2 separate regions of the Homo sapiens genome follow, and region 1 is linked to region 2. The links are contacts of gene promoters, found by promoter capture Hi-C in human tissues and cell types (Jung and others, 2019). All regions are on one chromosome and are shown on one strand. Each heading gives the region's core, a stretch centred on a gene start or on the middle of the fragment in contact. The rest is flanking DNA. Distances are from core to core; before and after follow the strand shown. Region 1 has its middle 45 kb from the start of DCC. Region 2 holds the start of DCC (DCC netrin 1 receptor).

Region 1 (2,856 bases), core at 164-2,663, 45 kb after region 2:
GGGGGTGCAAAAAATCTTACTCTTTATGTATAAAGCACAGATATACATACAATACATAAACAGATATATAGTATATCTGTAGTATTAAAATTTCACGGGGAGCCATAATTGGCTAGAAAAAGTATGCCTTAAAAGGCTCCCTAGGGAGGCAATAATGGGGGAAAAAGGTTGAAAAACACTGATATATTGTAATTAGATTTAGATTACAAATGTCTGTGCTAAAAGATTCCTTTCAGTCAAAGCAAAATAGGACATGTCACAAGTGTCAAAATTCACATACTTCATAAAGCATACCAAATTCTAAGAGAAAGAATGCTTTTTTCCTAATTTTGTGTAACAGAAGGTTCCTTTGTGTACCTTTATGTTGCAAATCTTTGGTATGTTAGTTTTTCAGGAATTTTGTTTGCTTCATTTAATACAAAGTCAAAATGCCAGTGGTGGGGTCTGGGAAAGATAAAAATAAGGCAAGATAACCCATGTACACAGCTCTGGAATGGTCTGGTTGAGTCCAGAGCTAAAACAAGACATTGGAAGTGAACAAATTGCATGTTTTTCAAATGATTATCTTGTTTCTCTTCACCGCATACTTGAAAAAAATCTCAGTGACAGTCCATTTGAGTTTATATTTTATGGTGAGAGCCAGGTAGTTAGCATTGCTACACAGGTCTTCTTTTCTCAATAAACAGTTTTACTTATGTTTAATTATATATATATAATACATGCTTATAGTAAAACATCCTAACAACATAAAAAAGTATGAAAGAAAATGTCACATACTATCCCACAATTTTGAGATTATCATTAATATTTTTGTAACCACTCTTTCATTTTTATGTTTATATATACATTTTATTTATATATTCAAATATTTTAATTTCTTCCATTATGTAAAGCATTAATCACTCCCTACATATATTTATATATGTGTTTATGTGGACTAATGTATACATACACATATATACATAGATATACACATATACACACATACACACACATACACATGCACACATATATTAATGGAGTTATACATTTTATTTTAAAACATGGGCTCCTTTTTGATTGCACCCTGTTTTTTTTAAATTATCAAGTAGAGAGTAGAATAGAAATATTTTTGTGAAGTTAAAATTCTTCTTTGAATAGTTGCATCCCACCTACTCACAGAAATGGGCCCAAATCATGCCACAGCTCAGATTCTCAGAATTAAATGTGTATAGTAAGGGACTATTTTCTCCCTTGCTTCTTGCTGTGCAGAGTGACACTGAATACCTAATGGTATTGTTTCCACAGGGGGTCTTAAAGGCCTCACATAAAATGGAAAACATGTCTTGCTTGTCACGTTGTATCTAGTACAATGCCTGACACATAATAGATGCTCAGTAAATATTGAGTAATGAGAGAGTTGTATAACGTCCCATAGGGAGGCCATATGATATAGTTTGGCTCTGTGTCCCCACCCAAATCTCATCTTGCACTGCTCTCCCATAATTCCCACGTGTTGTGGGAGGGAGCTGGTGGGAGATAATTTGAATCATGGGGACAGTTTCCCTTATACCGTTCTTGTGGTAGTGAATAAGTATCATGAGATCCGATGGGTTTATCAGGGATTTTCCCTTTTGCATCTCTCTCATTTTCTCTTGCCACTGCCATATAAGAAGTGCCTTTCACCTCCCACCATGATTCTGAGGCCTCCTCAACCATGTGGAACTGTAAGTCCAATTAAACCTCTTTTTCTTCCCAGTCTCAGGTATATATTTATCAGCAGCATGCAAATGGACTAATATACCATAGATCTACATTCATTCTGAGGTGGAATATTGACAACCTTTTCAAAATACTAATGAAATAACCCACATTTGTCATATTCTTGAAATCCAGAAGAGCAACTCTATTCTCATACATAGACATTTTTCTCTTTTGATTCTAGAAATGAGAGTAGTTAGCTAGCTAGGCAAGCAGAGTTATAGTCATAACTACATGACTATAGCCCACTGATCCTGCAGAAACACGAACTCATCGAAAACTCTATGCCAGGGCATGGACAAAATGAATCTTATCCATGCATGTACTGACATGAAGATGTCCTTGAATGGGGACATTTGACCAGGCTCACCTGTAGGAGTTGAATTCTACTTTGATTCTTATTAATATGGGAGGGCCATTATACACAATAATATAAAAATATTTAAAGACAGAACATTTAAACAAATCTTTATCTCTAATTATCATTCCAGTTCTGGCTTTAGTAGACATCTTTGGAATTATATATGGTGATTGAATCTCACTTTTAATTAGGATATTTACTCATGTAGAGAATGTATCATGTATGAGTTTTATCTTGTCTATTTTTATAGTTCCAATTTATCTTTTTAAATTTACACTTTTGTTTTGTAATAAAACTGAAAAAATAAATCTTAAAGATATAATTAAGAGTGTTCTAAATACCTAAAGGAATTCAGTTGCACATTTCTGAGGTTTAACAAGAAAATTAATGTCTCATCTAATGTAATAATACTCTGAATGGGATTTTTATCAAATCATTTTTAAAGAATTATAAAGAGTTGAGTAAGTATTATACAAACTGGAAAGGTAGTATTAGGTCAACTTGAATCCAATAACAGCAAATCTTATGTAATTCTGCCATACAATACATCTCACTTTTCATTTTAAGTATGTTCTTCTACTTCTGCGGGACTCTGGCTCTTCTCCTCTAACTCCTTGGTAAAAAGTAATGCTTTGATTTAGGCAATGATTAGACTGATAGGAGATTCTATTTTGAGGTAGCTGAATTCTGGGAAATTAGTGATTCAGTATTTTCCTTGTTGCTATTATTCCAAGTTGCCCTCTGAGAAAGTTAAA
Region 2 (2,827 bases), core at 40-2,539:
ATTAAACACACCTCCCCTCCTCCTTGGCAACTCTGTGCCTCCTTCAGTACCAGGATCCCCTCCTTGGAAGTACCAAAACATATTAGCTGTCCCTTTCCCTATTCTCAATCACCAAGTCCAAAAATCCAAACCAAAAGGAGATGTATTCACACACCAACGACTCAGCCCCACCATCTACATTCTGCGCAGACTTCCTCAAAGCCCCTGGATGTCCTCCTCGCCTGCTCCTGTTGCCCCAATCCTCCCCACTTGGTAGGTTTCTGGGGCTTTAAGGACCCAGCCCAGTTCCTTTCAACGATATCCCCAGCACCTGCCCCAGCCCGCCGGCTCTCCAAACCAACCCAAGTATTTGCAGAAGCAAAAATGCGTGAAGCATCAGATTTTAAAACAGCGAAGGGGCGCCCCTTGTACCACCCCCCCACCATCATCCGCCCCCAGGGAAGAAAAAAACTCTTCTATCTTTTATCATCGGTGCGCAAATGGGGGCAGCGCAAGCGCCAAATCTCTTGCTATCCCCCACCCCAATTCTACTACTCGCCAAATGAAATGAGAAGGGAAGTGGGGTACGGAAGGGGGTGCGACGAGAAGAAAGGAAAGAGCCACTTACCGGTTACTTGAAGATGCGCGCTGAACAAGGAAGCTCCGAAGAGTACAAAAGCCAGCTTGGGTACCCAAACACATCTAAGACTATTCTCCATATTTCAGCCAACACCTTCGGGGCCAGGGGTCGCGGGCAGCGGCAGCACTCACACACATGCACTCACACACGCATGCACACATGCACACACACGCGCCGAGCCCCTTCGGCTTCCTCCTCCTCCTCGTCCTCTTCCTCCACCTCTTTCTCCACCTCCCCTGCGCCTCTGCTGCCTTCGAAGCCTTTTTCCTTGTCCACTGACAGAATCAGCAGCAAAAGCAGGCAGCAAAAAGTTCCATTCGGTCCAAGAGATCCCGAGCCCCGGTAAAACCTTAGAAAACTAACTCAAGGAAACGGAGGGAGCCAGAGGAGGGAAGACAGCTCTCTGAGGGGCTCGCAAGTCATCAATAAACCACATCCAGGAGGGACCAAGAGGAGATGGAAGGCAATCCTGTGGCCGGGCTGTGCATTAAAAGGTTGAGGCTGGTTCCTTGTCGTCGGTTGGGTAAAGTTGAAGAGACAATTCCGCGCGAGAGCTGGAGATGCTGTTGGTTTTTCTTCCGAGAGCCGAGGGGACCCAGGGAGGAGAGGCGGGGGGGACTGCGGGGTGGAGCGCTCTCACTTGTTACTGGGGTGTCCGCCAGCGGTGTGCGAGCTGGGAGTTGGAACCGTACTACACATTGATCCGGAGAAGTGGAGGGCTGGAAGGGAAAATGTGGAGACCGGAGGGAAACGAACTGGATCAGGCAAAGATTCCACGGGAAGGGGGTGGGGGCAGACAGACTATGGCTTAGGGAAAAAAGAGCGGACCGAGGAGGCTTCCAGGAGCTGCATTTGCCTGGTCTGCGTATCAATGCGCAGGGATGCCCTCTGTGGGCAAAGCGTGGGAAGTCACTTTTGTCAATGGAGCCTGCGAACATCCTGAGCGTCTGGAGGTTTTGCAGCGACCGTGTTTGACACTCAGCCTTCAGGAAATTATTGGTATTTGACTGTAAAACCTAGGCGGGCGTTTAAGGCGGAGGAGGTGGCCAGGATGTTTACTTCCTTCTCTGCCCTTGGCATTATTTAAAATACAATTTTTCATTTGGAAAGAATCACCTGATCCAACTCCCTTCTAGGACGGGAGGGAAATCGAGATCCTGAAACACACAGCGGACAGGACAAAGGCCAGAGTTATTTCCTGACATAATAGCTAAGGGGCCTCCTTTTGTAGGACGTCTCATGTCGTCTGTGTTCTCTCTTCTCTCGCAATTGTTTTCTTTAACATATTTAAAAGCACTTATCATGTTCCAGGTGTTCTGTTGGCTCCCAGGAAATAGTTGGGACATCCAGTGAGACTCAGTCTCTATCCTCAAGGGGTTTGTGATCCGTCAGGAGAGAAGCTAAATGGATAATTATAAAGTATCGTGATAAATATGATGGTTCACGTAATGGAGGGGGTGCTCTGGGAAAACAAGAGAGACATTTCTCCAGTCCCTGGCAGATAAAGTGAAGCAACCATACACACGCGTGTGTGTGCACACACACACAAGCACACACACAGCAGGAAACTTAGGAAGGGTGAACAGTAAAGCCCTTTCAGGAAACTGTTTTAAGCTGAGTTCCTTTGCATAACTTGTCTCTGCTGCGGGAACTCAAGCTCCTTTGAGAAGAGAGAGGTTGTATGCCATCCATTTTTGCACTCCTCACAGATGCTAGCATAGAACTTGGAATTCTGCACATGCCAATACGTTTCTGCAGAATAAGTGAACTTACAAACCAATTAATTTGGCCGGGAAGGATAATGAATAGAAATGTCATTCTGGTAAAATTCTGTCGTTTAAGGAGATGTTCAGCTGTGGATTCAGACCATTCCTTACTAGATTCTTCCCCACCTGTTCTTGTCACCCTCCCATGCTCACCAGGCTGTGAGCAGAGAGAATGTGAACATCTATTTAAGAAGAAAGGCGTGAGGGAAAGCATGAAAAATCCAGGATAAAATCATCATCAGGGAAACTCCTATGATGCTGGAACTGGACAACAGTGTTTTAGATCCCTAGTCATGCCCATTCCTTCCTGTCCTGGAAAAGTTAAAATATGAAGTGCCTGTGTTCACTAAAGCAAAACCTTCTGAAATAGCTTACATGGATGGATTCTTTAGAATTGGATGAAACTCTTTGGTTACCCCCAAATTTCTTGAAACACTCAAAA

Evidence for each region. The method cuts DNA at HindIII sites, captures the fragments that hold promoters and counts their contacts. A contact is called where the count stands out against the background at its distance.
Region 1: a fragment that was not itself captured here is called in contact with the fragment with the promoter of DCC in region 2 in 1 of the 25 tissues and cell types used here (stomach).

What each region holds. Positions count from the first base shown.
Region 1 is chr18:52,293,981-52,296,836 of GRCh38, reverse strand. No RefSeq gene overlaps it. Among named protein-coding and RNA genes, the nearest start is that of DCC, 45 kb to the left of the region's middle. The HindIII fragment of the contact is 4,227 bases long and covers 1-2,856 here.
Region 2 is chr18:52,338,659-52,341,485 of GRCh38, reverse strand. It overlaps DCC (DCC netrin 1 receptor), which reads right to left and starts at 1,289. Exons shown (of 29, transcript NM_005215.4): 1 at 608-1,289. The coding sequence starts at 698. The HindIII fragment of the contact is 11,241 bases long and covers 1-2,827 here.